Linked DNA regions of Homo sapiens: region 1 is linked to region 2. The links are contacts of gene promoters, found by promoter capture Hi-C in human tissues and cell types (Jung and others, 2019). All regions are on one chromosome and are shown on one strand. The core of a region is centred on a gene start or on the middle of the fragment in contact, and the rest is flanking DNA. Distances in the headings are between cores, read along the strand shown.

Region 1 (7,847 bases), core at 5,040-7,539, 1.2 Mb after region 2:
GTTGTGTGCTAAATGTTTCTGTTCCCCCAAATTCATATGTTGAAAGCTTAAACCCCAATATAATGATATTAGAAGGTGGGGGTTTGGGGAGGTAATTAGGTTTAGATGTGGTTATGAGGTTGGGGTGCCCATGATAGGATTAGTGTTCTTATAAGAAAAAGACTGGAGTTCACTCTCTCATCTCACCACTGAGGACACAGAGAGACAGCAGCCATCTTCAAGCCAGGAAGAGGTATCTCACTAGAAGTCAACCATGCAGCCATCCTGATCTTGGACTTCCCAGACTCCCGAACTGTGAGAAATAAATGTCTGTTCTTTAAGCCACCAGGTCTATGTTATTTGATGATAGCAGCCTGATAGACTAATACAATGTATCTTTTAGCAAGTTCTCCAAAAATGTTAGTTTCCTTTTCCCTGCCTTCTTTTCAGAGCTAAGAATACAAAATCACTTGCTTCTCCTAGGAAGGGACCTTTTGAGGAGTTTAATGCAGCTTCCAGATGCTACCACTTGTTTTGGCTTTCCAGAAAATAAGTGTCAAATTAATAAGAGAAATGAAGAGGTGTAAAGTACCATTTTAAATCACTGATCTCACTAAAGGTTAACTATAATGATAGCTAGTCACCTGTCTGCACCTATTATTATATTCCATGCTCATGGCAGGTGGCAATGAAGGTGGGATGTGTGAGTAGGAATAGCACTGGTAGAAAATGATAGATTTGGCCAAGAATTGTTCTAACACACTTTTTTTTATAACAGTGGCTATTATAATTTTATCACCATCATCACCATCCATTATATTTGATTTAGTTTCCAATGTTCTTGAACACATTTGAGCCCATTTTACAGCAGGCTACCTAACTTTCAGAAAGGCTATAGTTCTCTCAAAGTCTCAGAAAGAGCCAGTAGTAAGTGGCAGAACTAGGACTTGAACCTAGCTCTTCTGTTCTTGCTCCAGTAGGTTTCACGGTGCTCCATGAAGTCATACAGGTCCACAGAGCACCCCAAGGACCACTGTGGGAGGAACTGGGAAGGCTGGACAGTGGTGGAAAATGATAGTGGTGATGAGAAAATTGACAATAATAACTGCAACAAGCCCAGCTGAGACAGTTCTTTCCAAACTCCTCCATTCCTCCCCCTCCTTTAGCATTTAGCACAGTTGTCCTTCCGTATCCAGTATTCGTGGGGGATTGGTACCAGGACACTGCCCCCTATCAAAATCTGAGGATGCCCAAGTTCCTTATATAAAATGGTGTAGAATCTGCATATAATCTATGCACATCCTTTTGTATATTTTAAACCTGGGCCACCGACTGGTACCAGTCCATGGTCTGTTAGGATCTGGGCCACACAGCAGGAGGTGGGTGGAGGGTGAGTGAGCATTACTGCCTGAACTCCGCCTCCTGTCAGCAGAGCATTTGATTCTCATAGGAGCAGGAACCCTATTGTGAACTGTGCATATGAGGGATCTAGGCTGTGCATTCCTTGTGAGAATCTAACTAATGCCTGATGATCTGAGGTGGAACAGTTTCATCCCGAAAGCACCACCGTCCCCCCAACCACCTCTCTTGTGGAAAAATTCTCTTCCAAGCAACTGGTTCCTGGTGCCAAAAAGGTTGGGAACTGCTGCTTTAAATCATCTCTAGATTACTTATAGCACCTAATATAATGTAAATGCTACCTAAATAGTTATTGTACTGTAGATTTTATTGGTACTATTTTCTACTGTTGGATTGAGATTTTTTTGTCCTGAATATTTTTGATATGCAGTTGGATGGAGGGACACCTATATAGCAATGTACGAGGGCAGATGACTAATAGTGTAATGAATCTGTTGAAGTTGTTGAACCCCCTCATTTACTTAACTAATTTGATCTATAGTTCTTTTGCTAATCTGATCTATGTTTCCTGAAAAGCTAAAACAAAACAAGCATCTGATGGCTAAAATTAATTCTGCCAAATGCCTCCGCTTGTAGTGATGCAACAACAAGGGAGGGGAAGGACCTATACTTCACCAGCCTGTGCTGGCTGCTTTTCATGTATTTATTAACTTAAAAAACCACGAGTTTAAGCTGATCTCTTTATTACATTTGAACTGTACACAAATATTGGGTTTGAAAAAGACTTTTGTTAAAAACCCAAAGGCAAAGGTGTGGCCAATTCAGGACTTCCATACAATGGCAATTTTGTATCCTGCTAACTCTGTCTCCAGAAAGTGGGTTAGGGAGTCTGGGTGACTTCTTGGCTTCGCAGGCTCCTTCCCCCTGGGGAGGGATGTCGGCGACTTCTTGGCCTCACAAGTTCCTTCCCCCTGGGGAGGGATGTAGCCAAACTGTACCCTAGAGTAAAAGGTCTGTGGAGGCTGGTGTAGTGTGGCTCATGCCTGTAATCCCAGCACTTGGGAGGCCCAAGCAGGAGGATCGCTTGAGGCCAGGAGTTTGGGACCAGCCTGGGCAACATAGTGAGACCCCATCTCTTAAAAAAAAAATAAGCTAAAAGATTAGCTGAGTGTGGTGGTGTGTACCTGTAGTCCCAGCTACTCAGGAGCTTGAGGTAAGAGGATTGCTTGAGCCAAAAGATTGAGGCTGCAGTGAGCCATGATTGCACCATTGCAATCCAGCCTGGGAGATGGAGTGAGATCCATCTCTTAAAAGAAAAAAAAAGGTCTGAGGGTAGTGTTGCCACCATGACCACCCCCCGGCCTTTCTCCAAAGAACACTTTTATTCACAATATTCCAGGCATGTGATTAACACCACTGCCTTATTTCATTATTTAAATATTCCACCCATGGATGTTTTTTCTCCTAACTAGAGCAGACTGTAATTTCTCAGGGGTCAGGGGCTTATTTTGCAAGACTGCATCTCTAATGCTATAGAAATAAAAGAAATGCAAAAGTTATCACTTGAATGTACTGAATAAATAAATGGGAAAATCTGAAGATATCATGTTGATTTTTTGAAAGGATAAAACACTGGGGAAGGGGACTTATGCTCTTTTGATATCAATGCTATGTGGAATACATCATGCTAAGGAATCAAGGCAAAACCACAGAGTAGGCTAAGAGAAACAAGACCTAGACTGAGCAGCGAGCTCAAGTGTTTCATTTATTATGGGACAGGAATCTCATTCCTGCTCTTTCCAACTCCACCTTATTAGGTACCTTTTAAGATCATTTTCTGTTTCCTTGTTTCTCTTTTAGAACCATGCTCAGCACCTCCCTAAGAAGAGGGGCCACCTGTGTGGAATGGTTCCTGAAGCTGGCAGTGGTGGGGGTGTGAATAAGCCAGTTGTTCTGGCGGGGGCTTGTGAAGCTTAAAAATGAAGAATTGAGAAGAACTGAAAAGGTATCGTTTAGAGTTGGATTATCATGAGTGACTAAACATGTACACAATAAACACAGAATTAGGAAAATTCTTAAAATTTTAAAACTGAAAAACTAGCAATTTTCTAGTATTAGGAATGCAAAATCTAAGACAGAGGCATTTCATCCTAATATTCTCCAATATATGTACAAAAGGCCAAATTCCCTAAACAAGTCCATAGGGAGTTCCTGGAATTTAACATGGGGGTTAAGGTTTTAGTATTTCCTCCACAAGCTGAAGAGTGATGGTTCCTTTCTCTGTCTCTTTCTAAACTCAGGAAAGCTATGCAAATCCCTTATGTAGACAAAGCTTTTAGTAGATCTGGCAAATGAGATCTGTTCTTAAGAAACAGCACTTGGCAAAGTAACTGCTATTTTGTACACATCTGTTTTACATCTGTTCAAACCTAAATTCCTTCAGAGGAGGGGCAATGTCATCCTAGCTCAAAATAGGCATTAATAAATCTTATGCTAAATCACCAACATCTTTTGGTAAAATAGCTGTGTTTAATTAATGAAAGACTTCCAGATTAACTTCTGATGAGGTCTTCTAGGTATCTTCAGAGTGTTTTATGATGTTTTCTCTCCCTAGTTATTGTTAATATATTCTGTGACCTTTCCACAACAGAAAGTCATTTTAACATGTGGCTCACGTAGTTTCTGAATTTTTCTTTCTTTTTAAAGGATCATGCTGCTGCTTTTTGGGATGATTACTGATGTTTATAGTGAGCCCCATCCCCCACTTTTTAAACTCCATAAATATTTAAGACAAATAACCCTAAATATTTGTCCATGATAGAGATCCTGGGTCCCCTCCTTTGATTGGTGCATGCTTTGTTTAACATTTTGCCAGTGCTTCCCAGTAGCAAACAATCAATGCACATTTTGAACTTGTATTCTTAAAAAATCTGCAGCCACAAACATGGCCCATGTCCTAAATAGTAGGTACTGCTGAATAGATCTTCAATGTTTATTTTTGTCCGGCCTGCAAATATTTTATATTATTTTGCCATGAAGAAAGCTGCCTGAGACTATGTCGGCAGTTTCCTGTAACGTAGATGCCTTGTCAATAATGTAAGTATGGTGCAGAGTGAACAAATCCATAAATCTCGAAGTCACAAATAACTTGCTCATCTGGGGCTGAGCTGCCTGAGTCTCCATGGATACCAAGGGAGCATCTTCAATTCAGGGAACTCTCAGGGAGAGCAGACTCTTTCTTGCCCCAGGAATCTGCAAGCCTGGCAAAAAGAAGTGAGGGTCCTTGAGAACATTACCTTTGTGGATCCTGTTCATTAACCCACTAGAGACTAAGTCCCAGGTCCCCTTTGGTTTTCTCCCACTCCCTTTAAGAGAAAATCTCCTGGAGAGGGTCAGGGGGCACAGGTAGCATGAGGGCTAATTGGGATTTCTGAGACTGTTTGAACATTTTTCCTTCAAAGCTTTGATGGGAATTCCAGCATCATAAGTGAGTATATTTTTCTATTTTATGGTTATATTTTTAGAGACAGGGTTTCTCTAAGGGGAAGCTGAATATTTAGGCACTGAGACAGCCCTGGAAGTAGAAAATGGGCATATTATAAGCATAGCTATGCATCAATGTAAGTCAAAGTCCCCACAATATGCCTTGGAAGCAAAAAACATATGTCTCTGTAGGAAATTAGCCTATATACATTATAAGAGCAAAGCTATGGTTCCATATGTTCCATAACTGTAATTGTTCATCAAGATAGGAAAATAAAAACAAAGAAAAATAGAGTTCCTACCATTATTACCTCCTGCCAATTATCAGCTCCCAGAACACATTGTCTATACTCTTAACTTTGGTGGCAGATCATTCTGCTTAGCAGTTACCAACTCTTAGTTCTGTGTTGCAGATCTTAGCTGCAATGCACCCAAAGAAACTATGAAATGTAGCCTTGTTGTCTTATCCTTTTTCTTATGGTAGTTAATTTTATGACACCAAAGAATTCTTCCCTCAGTAAAATTATGCATCTGAGAAAACCAATGGTAATTCTTTCAAAACTTATCTTTTGATCTGCTCATTCAAGGACTTATTTCAGTATCTAAGATTTTTAAAGAATTTTTTTTCTGCGAAGGACATGAACAGACACTTCTCAAAAGAAGACATTTATGCAGCCAAAAAACACATGAAGAAATGCTCATCATCACTGGCCATCAGAGAAATGCAAATCAAAACCACTATGAGATATCATCTCACACCAGTTAGAATGGCAATCATTAAAAAGTCAGGAAACAACAGGTGCTGGAGAGGATGTGGAGAAACAGGAACACTTTTACACTGTTGGTGGGACTGTAAACTAGTTCAACCATTGTGGAAGTCAGTGTGGCGATTCCTCAGGGATCTAGAACTAGAAATACCATTTGACCCAGCCATCCCATTACTGGGTATATACCCAAAGGACTATAAATCATGCTGCTATAAAGACACATGCACACGTATGTTTATTGCGGCACTATTCACAATAGCAAAGACTTGGAACCAACCCAAATGTCCAACAATGATAGACTGGATTAAGAAAATGTGGCACATATACACCATGGAATACTATGCAGCCATAAAAAATGATGAGTTCATATCCTTTGTAGGGACATGGATGAAATTGGAAACCATCATTCTCAGTAAACTATCGCAAGAACAAAAAACCAAACACCGCATATTCTCACTCATAGGTGGGAATTGAACAATGAGATCACATGGACACAGGAAGGGGAATATCACACTCTGGGGACTGTGGTGGGGTCGGGGGAGGGGGGAGGGATAGCATTGGGAGATATACCTAATGCTAGATGACACATTAGTGGGTGCAGCGCACCAGCATGGCACATGTATACATATGTAACTAACCTGCACAATGTGCACATGTACCCTAAAACTTAGAGTATAATAAAAAAAAAAAAACAAAAAAACAAACAAACAAACAAAAAAAAATAATTTTTTTTCTTTAAAAAAGAAAGGAAGCACTTCCTTTTTCTAGTAGATGATTCTAGAATTACGGCTTATGCTAAAAATGTAAGAGAATGCCTGCACCACCGTGTGTAGGTCACACATCAGGTCGGGGATGTTTCATGAGCAAAGAAGCCATTATTATAATAATCAAAAGGCAGCAGACTTCCCCAGATAGCAATGTTGGCTGCTAGGATTAAACCTCCATCAAGATCACAAGTAAGGCATGACTAAGTAAAAACCTACTTGTATTTTCTATCATTGTATTTTGGGATTTGGACCAGGGCTGTAAGGATCCAGTGGTCATCTTTATTGCATGTATCAACACACAGCACAGGTCTCTTAAGAAGGATCCTCCAAGGATCAAGCACACACAATTGCACTTATGTGTTCAGTGGGGAGATTCTCAAGGCAGAGTAAACAAGAAATAGGTAAAGTTAGTTTGACTGAAGAGAATGTTCTACCTCCAGTACCCCTGCATACAATTAATATGAGAAAATTTCAAGACGCTGCAGGGATAAGATACCACTTAGAATGTGTGCATTGTCTTGGGTTCTGTTTTCCTCGGGCAGGCACTCTGGGGTTGCTGGGCATACGTTTTGAAACTCTGGCTTTAGAACGAATTGCTCAGGAAGCCTGATAGAAGTGACAATTCTCTGCCTACCCCTAGAAACTGTGATTGAGTAGATCTGGGGAGGGGCCTATGGATCTGCACTCCAACTACAGCCCAGGTGGGTGTTCAGACCATAGCTAGAAACTGGTTTGAGAAACTGGAGAAAGAATCTGGGCTTTGATGAGAGTGACAAGAGTTTTCCCTCCAGCCCTGCCATTTACTCCATGTGTGACCTCTGACATGGTTCCTAGACTGCTCTCTAATTCAGTTTCTTAGATATAAAAGAGTGATAATTGTAAAGGTTAAATAAAATATGTAAAGCTCTCTAAGATTCTTGGCACAAAGTTTACTAGTGTTTGAGCCCCTTCACCTTCTCTTCTATACAGTAACATTTTTTTTGAATGCTTATTATGGACCAGGTACTTTTCTAAGGATTATTGCATTACATTTAATCCCAGAGGTAGGTATTCTCTAAATTACCTCCATTTTACAGATGAGAACTAGAGGTACAGAGAGGTTGAGCTATTTGTCCAAAGTTACACAGATAGCAGGTGGCAGGGTTGGGCCTTGACCTAGCTTTACTACCAAGAACGTACATTATTGTCAGGGACATAAATTAGGGATGGGAAATTTCAATACCTCTCTCTGCTGTCTAACAAAGACCTACAGTTTACTTACAGTGCCTTTACTATCTGATCATGTTCCTTGATGCCCCACCAGATGAAGAGACCTACTACCACTCAGTATGGATGGACACATACAATTTTACCTGGCCCCAAAGGTGTTGTTCTATCATAGGGCTTGGATGCTAGGGATATACTATTCCTAAAATTAGGAACTGCCTTACTTGTAGGGGCATATTTAATTTTTCCAGATATTAGAGAGCCTTAGGTTCACTTAACAAAAAAA
Region 2 (7,111 bases), core at 4,471-6,970:
TTTGGAACGTAAGTTTTTGTAGAGTATGTAAGTGTATGAGTGTGTGTTTTGAATGTGTGATGGGAGTACATGAATGTGAATGTGTGAGTGCACAAGTGTGTGTGCGTGTGTGTGGGTGTTTATGAGTGTGGGTGTGTGTGCGTAGGAATGTGTATGAATCTGGATGTGTGTGTGTGTGACTTTGTGTGTGTGGGGAGGGCTGCATGTGCTGAGAGCTGTCAAGAATGGGGACTTCTATTTCTCCTCACCAATCTCTAGATCCTGCTTTATTTTATCCTCTCCTAAGCCTTATGCAAACTTAAGACAACTCAGGTTGAGACCCTCTATTACTGTCAAAAGCCATTTTGAAGCAATTCAAATGTTCTGTTTCTATTCTTCTGGGAAATCTGTGCTGTCTCAGAAATTCTAATGGCATTCTAAAATCATCTGTTGCTTTGTAATATGGCCTTTTCAACAAATAGGCCTAGTCTCTTCTGCTTTCGCCCAGGGTTGGAGGGCATCAGGATGGCAGAGAGAATGGGCAGGGTGGTGACACCTGTGGACAGCCAGCATCATGCCGGGTTCTGTGCTATTTGCTTCCTTCACATGACTTCCTTTATTCATCAGAGGAACCCTGCAAGGTCAGTATTATTATTTCCCTTTGAAAACACATGTCCAGGAAGTTTAGCAACTTTCCACCGTGACACAGAGATAGGAGCTTAAACCTTGTACTCTTTTTTTCTACACTACATTGGTAACTGATCTTTATTTTCCTTGCCTTTCTTCTCTTTTTCTGTCTTTATCTTTGAGCCTTGATATGTCATTACTGGTGCTGGGTAGTGGGCAGTTTCTGCTGGAAGGTAGCTGGCATTCAACTGTAACCCTTTGCCCTGTCTGGTCCAGGGCAAAGTCTCCTCAATGGGAATAAAATGCCTTTGCCTTCTTTAGCTCATTTCTTCACACTCAGGGCTACAAAGCAAAATGCTGCAGTTTCTGAAATGGGAGAAAATATTCCGTAGGATGACTAAAATTTCCTAAATTTTTGCAACATGTAGCAAAATGGAGCATAATTTCAAATTGTGTTTATCTGAGCTTTGCTTAAAAACTTACTGTGTTAAAGCCACTATTAAACCCAGCTACTCAGGAGACTGAGGTGGGAGGGTTGCTTGAACCCTGGAAGTTGAGGCTGCAGTGAGCCATGATCATGTCACTGCACTCCAGCCAGGGTGATAGAGTAAGACCCTGTCTCAAAACAAAACAAAACACAGAAAAACTGCTGTGTAGTTACAAGATTCTTCAACTAGTCAGGACTTCTAGCAAGATAATGTAATGAACTCTGGGTACATGGAGAGTTATGTGGTCATTGATAATCATGATCACTCTGATAGTTCCTGGGAAAGAGGTGTATTTTCTGTCTCTTTCTGCTACCTGGCCTGATGGCAGTGAGGACAGCCCTGCTGTAGTGCTCAGCAGAAACCTGGATGATGTGCTGTCAATTTTGGAAGGGTAGCAAGTGAACAGAGAGGGTGAGACCAGGGAATAATTTGCGGGGGTTGCAATTGGTTTGAGGAAAAACCTTTTTTTTTTTTTTTTTTTTTTTTTGAGATGGAGACAGAGCTTGGCAGAGCAAGCTCTGTCACCCAGGCTGGAGTGTTGTAGCGCATTCTCGGCTCACTGCAACTTCCACCTCTTGGGTTCAAGTGATTCTCATGTCTCAGCCTCCCCAGTAGCTGGGATTACAGATGTGCACCATCATGCCTGGCTAATTTTTGTATTTTTAGTAGAGATGGGGTTTCACCATGTTGGCTAGGCTGGTCTTGAACTCCTGACCTCAGGTGATCCACCCACCTTGGCCTCCCAAAGTTCTGGGATTACAAGTGTGAGCCACCATGCCCGGCTGAGGAAAAACATTTCTATAGTTTAATATATCATTTCTTTTCATCTATTACCAAAATTATACTGAAAGAGTTACATTTAGAGTTCACATTTCATGAAAGCAGTTCTTTTACATGGTTCAGGTTTGTTTTTATGTGATCAAATCTTGGCCTCTCTGTTTCACCTTACCTAGAGTATAGTTTTGGTAACAGTGATTCAGTAGTAACCAAAGTCCTCAGAAAGTCTTTTAGGTTTCTTTTGAGTTTACATAGATAATAAAAATATTTTAAAAACATTTTACTATCATTACTGTCTTATTCCATTTTGTTGCTATAACAGAATACCACACACTGGGTAATTTATAAAGAAAAGAAATTTATTTCTCACAGTTCTGGAGGTTAGGAGGTTTAATATCAAGGTGCTGGCATCTGGTAAGGACCTTTGTGCTATGTCATCCCAAAGCGGGGGGGCAAGAGAGGGCCAAGCTCACATTTATAACAATCCACTCCTATAACAACATTAATCCATTCATGGGAGCAGAGCTCTCATGGCCTAATCACCCCTTATTGTCCTACCTCTTAATACCATTATAATGGAAGTTAAATTTTAACATGAGTTTTGGAGGGGACAAACATTCAGACCATAGCAATTACCAGTATGCTGTTTGTCCTCTTATTTTCCTTTTCATAGAAAAATGTAATAAATGGAACATACTAGAAGGATCTATGGGAACAACATTCAGGGAAAATGCCATTCCTCTTCAACCAATCCAGGGAAAACGTACAGAGAAACTCTAATTTTTGTGAGTTTTTGTTAATGCTATGGCAGTATTTCAGCTGTGGGTCACCTGGAAATTTTATCACTGCAGAAGGTGATAAACATTTCATTATACAATGCTCTATTCTTTTATACTTTCCTAGAGGCAATAACTACATATACCGACAATGAAGATCTTTTTAAATAGACACGTGGGGTTTTGAAGCACTTGAGATTTTATTGATTAATTGATTTTTTATTTTTTTACTTTGTGTCAACCATCTCTTAGAATCTGGATTTGGGGGACTGACTTAAGATTGGCTGGGAGAAGTCAGTAGGGAACCTCAGGATTTGTCCAGAAGCTGGGAAGTTTCATTTTTTTTTTTTTTTTGAGACGAAGTCTCGCTCTGTCACCCAGGCTGGAGTGCAGTGGCACGATCTCAGCTCACTGCAAGCTCCGCTTTCGAGGTTCACGCCATTCTCCTGCCTCAGCCTCCCGAGTAGCTGGGACTACAGGCGCCCGCCAACACGCCCGGCTAATTTTTTTGTATTTTTAGTAGAGACGGGGTTTCACCGTGTTAGCCAGGATGGTCTGGAACTCCCAACCTCGGGTGATTCGCCCACCTCGGCCTCCCAAAGTGTGGGATTACAGGCGTGAGCCACCACGCCCGGCCGGAAGTTGTAGATTTTAAACCAGTTGACTAGTACAGGTGTACCCAAGAGTTTCTCAAAATAAGAGTTACCAACACCCAAAAGTTACAGTCATCAGCCAGGGCCACAATTCTCTGCTCAGCTCCTCCTGCTGTTGTTCCTCTCTTCCCGAGCCGTTCTCTGACTTTGAGAGCCTCTGCCTGTCCCCAGGCCTAATGTAGACCTCTCCTTCGAGATCTGTCATTTGGGAGGTTATTATAGTAGATGGTGATATGGGTTCAGGGCAGCTAGTTTGCAGTTTAGAATCTCTGCCATGTACTGAAGCCCAAAACTATTAAACTGAGTATACAAGAATGTTTTGGTGCTGCCCCAGCTTCTTGGCTCTACTTTCTTATCTAATCTTAGTTGTCAATGATTTCAAGAGCAAACAGCCAAGGAAGCCTGAAGACCAACAGAAACTTTGAGCAGACCTGGCTTGCAACTATTTATAAATTAATTTTGTTATTCCTTCTTTCCTGTATATGTGTAGTTCCATGAATTCTACTTTGAACTGGTTATAACATCTTACTGGTTCCCTCATGAATGAGTTACATAAAAATTTTGATATGTTTTCATTTTATGTTGTATGAAAGGCATGATTTTTGCCTCTGAAAGTATTTTTTAACATTAGGTACATTATATGCTAAGTACTTGTCTAGATACTTTATGTGTTTATTTTGCAGACACACAGAACACATTTGTATATGCCAGGTGCTGTTTTAAGTGCTCTATAAGTATTAACTAATTCAATCCTTAGAATAGGATTATGTCATTTAAACTTCTCTTCAGCTCTTATTAGCCCTATCTTATTAAATGGAGGCTCAGAGAGGCCCAAGGTTGTGTTATTAAATTGTAGGGTCTGTGTGAGGCTGAGGCAACTGCCCTCCCCAGAAGACACTGGGAGCTCCCTGCTAGGGACTAAATGTTTGTGTCCCCTCTGCAATTCATATGTTGAGACCCTAACCCCCAACGTGATGTTATCAGGCATTTGGCAGATAATTAGCTACAGGTGAGGTTATGAGCATAGGCCCCCATAATGGGATCTGTGCCCTTATAAGAAGTGACCAGGAAGCTTACTCTTTCTCTGTCTCCAACATGAAGGTGTCCTTCTGCAAACCAGGAAGAGGGCCCTCACCAGGAACTGATTGGCCAGCACTGTCATCTTGGACTTCCCAGCCTTCAGGACTGTGACGAATAAATTGCTATTGTAAGCCACCCAGTCTATGGTATCTTTGTTATAGCAGCTTGAGCCAAGATATACCCTCTAATGGTGCTGTAGGATGGGGTGAGGAAAGGCCCCCAGCTCTGGTTTTTGGGAAGCTGCATCTTTATTTTTATTATTTGTTTGAGACAGGGTCTCACTTTGTCACCCAGGCTGAAGTGCAGTGGAACGACCTTGGCTCACTGCAGTCTCAGGCTCCTGGGTTCAAGCAATCCCCTTGCCTCAGCCCCCTAAGTAGCTGGGACTACAGGCACGTGCCACCATGCCCTGCTAATTTTTGTATTTCTTTAAGAGATGGGGTTTTGCCATGTTACCCAGGCTGGTCTCGAACTCCTGAGCTCAAACCATCTGCCCATTTCAGCCTCCCAAACTGTTGGGATTACAGGCATGAGCCATCCTTCCAGGCCAGAATCTGCATCTCTAAAGAGCAGATTCTCCTGCCTCAGCCTCCTGCGTAGCTGGGACTACAGGTTCGTGCCACCATGCCCAGCTGATTTTTTGTATTTTTAGTAGAGAAGGGGTTTTACTGTGTTAGCCAGGATAGTCTTGATCTCCTGACCTCGTGATTCACCCTCCTTGGCCTCTTAAAGTGCTGGGATTACAAGTGTGAGCCATCGCGCCCGGCCGGTTTATTTTTTTAAAAATGGCTGGGCACAGTGACTTGTGGCTGTAGTTCTAGCTACTTGGGAGGCTGAGGCAGGAGGATTACTTAAGCCCAAGAGTTGGAGGCTGCAGTGAGCTATGATCGTGCCACCACACACTCCAGCCTGGGTGACAGATCAAGACCCTGTCTTAAAAAAAAAAAGTATGATTATTATCAGAGTCTCTAGGTGACAGTGAGAGGCAGCCTGGTGCAGGGGATAGGGCACAGTTGTAATCTGCTAGACTGGGTTCAAATCCTAAATCGGCCATTCAGAGCGTGAATACATTAGAACTGGCTTAAATTAGCATTTAAAATGTCAACAGGATTAAGTAAGTAGTTCCTTCTCACTTTTTCCACAGGAGGTGAGAAAGGTCTCAGCAAGGCCCTAGGAGGGAAGGGCGTGGGGATGAAAGGGATCCAGAGAGTCTGTGCATTGGCAGAGAAGATAGTGTAACTGGCACTGCGGCTGGAGGGCTGGTCCCACAGTGAGCTACAGCCCTGCCCGCTGGCCGTGGGAGAGGCTTAAAACAAACGCCGGAAGCAACTCCCAGCCCCATAAAGATCTGTGACCGGCAGCCCCAGACCTGCCTGCCTTCCTGACTTCTGTTCCAGAGCAAAGGTCATTCAGCCGCTTGAATCAGCCTTTTCCCCCCACCCGGTCCCCAACTTTGTTTACCCGATAAGGAAGGTCAGCATTCAAAGTCAAGAAGCGCCATTTATCTTCCCGTGCGCTCTACAAATAGTTCCGTGAGAAAGATGGCCGGGAACTCGATCCTGCTGGCTGCTGTCTCTATTCTCTCGGCCTGTCAGCAAAGTAAGAGGCATGGGAAGTTCGTGTGTGTGCGCGTGTGTGCGTGTGTGTGTGTGTGTGACAAGGCTTGCGGGAGAGAGAGGGAGGGAGGGAGATGGGTCCGGTGTTTTGTTTCCTACTTGCCCTTGCAGGTAGCTCTGGGTCCTCAGAGCACAGTCGCCTCAGGGTCACCCATGCCGCCTGCTACCCTCCTTCCCAGGGGCAAGCAGAGACTGAGAACATTCCAGAGATTAGTTCTCCCAACTGGAACGCTGTGGGGCCTCAGAGCTCAGCGATTCTGCATCATCTGTGATTACGACCCACAGCCCGTTCAAACGAGCGTTAGTAGCCTGCTAACCTGCAGGAAGTGGTGTGAATATTAATTACAAGTGTTCCAAAGGAAACGTGCCTGCTTCTAAACCTGGTTGTGATTTCTTGAACGTTGATGTTTTAATTAATGTGTTTTCTTAAATAAACTGCCTATGGTGGTATGATTATCAGATTGAAAAAAACTTCCTTCAGAAATATTAGCTTTAGATTAAGTAATTAGCTCTAAATTTTAAAACAGCTTCCCACTAGGATTATTCAATATCTCGACTGCCTGGTTAAATAGAGGGCTTTTACTCCATGGGAGTCACATTTGCTCAATTCATATTATCTTACCTACAATGTCAGCTGGGGAAAGGGGTCCGAGTGCAAGAGTGCAAGACTTCTTACCAAGCATGCATATTTCTTTATATTTCCAAGTATGCCTGTACCAGGAAATAGGGCCAAGCCGTAGACTGCTCAGGTTACACAAACAGCCAGAAGCAGGAAGGCCTCACAGCTGAGGATCCAGTCCAGGCCTCCGTGCATGCTCAATGTCTTGCCTAGCCAGTCTGTTTTGAGATTGTATGAAGATCTTGAACCTTCAGACTCACGTTTTGTGGTTTGATTCACACAATCTGTTGTGGAGAAGAGCAGGATATTTGTTTCTAATTAAAGAAGCACTTAGATCTGTTAAAAGGAAAACCCTAGACAAATTACATTTAACTGAGTTTAATTGAGCAAAGAACGATTCACAGTTGGGCATGGGGAACCGGAATAGGTTCAGAGAGACTCTGGGGCTGCCACGTGGTAGAAGAAGATTTATGGACAGAAAAAGGAAAGCGACTCC

Evidence for each region. The method cuts DNA at HindIII sites, captures the fragments that hold promoters and counts their contacts. A contact is called where the count stands out against the background at its distance.
Region 1: a fragment that was not itself captured here is called in contact with the fragment with the promoter of MGST2 in region 2 in 1 of the 25 tissues and cell types used here (dorsolateral prefrontal cortex).

What each region holds. Positions count from the first base shown.
Region 1 is chr4:140,890,421-140,898,267 of GRCh38, forward strand. All of the region lies in intron 6 of RNF150 (ring finger protein 150), which reads right to left. Among named protein-coding and RNA genes, the nearest start is that of TBC1D9, 140 kb to the left of the region's middle. The HindIII fragment of the contact is 5,598 bases long and covers 3,491-7,847 here.
Region 2 is chr4:139,660,099-139,667,209 of GRCh38, forward strand. It overlaps MGST2 (microsomal glutathione S-transferase 2), which reads left to right and starts at 5,721. Exons shown (of 5, transcript NM_002413.5): 1 at 5,721-5,979. The coding sequence starts at 5,922. RefSeq lists enhancers at 5,280-6,479, 5,776-5,945. The HindIII fragment of the contact is 4,625 bases long and covers 1,638-6,262 here.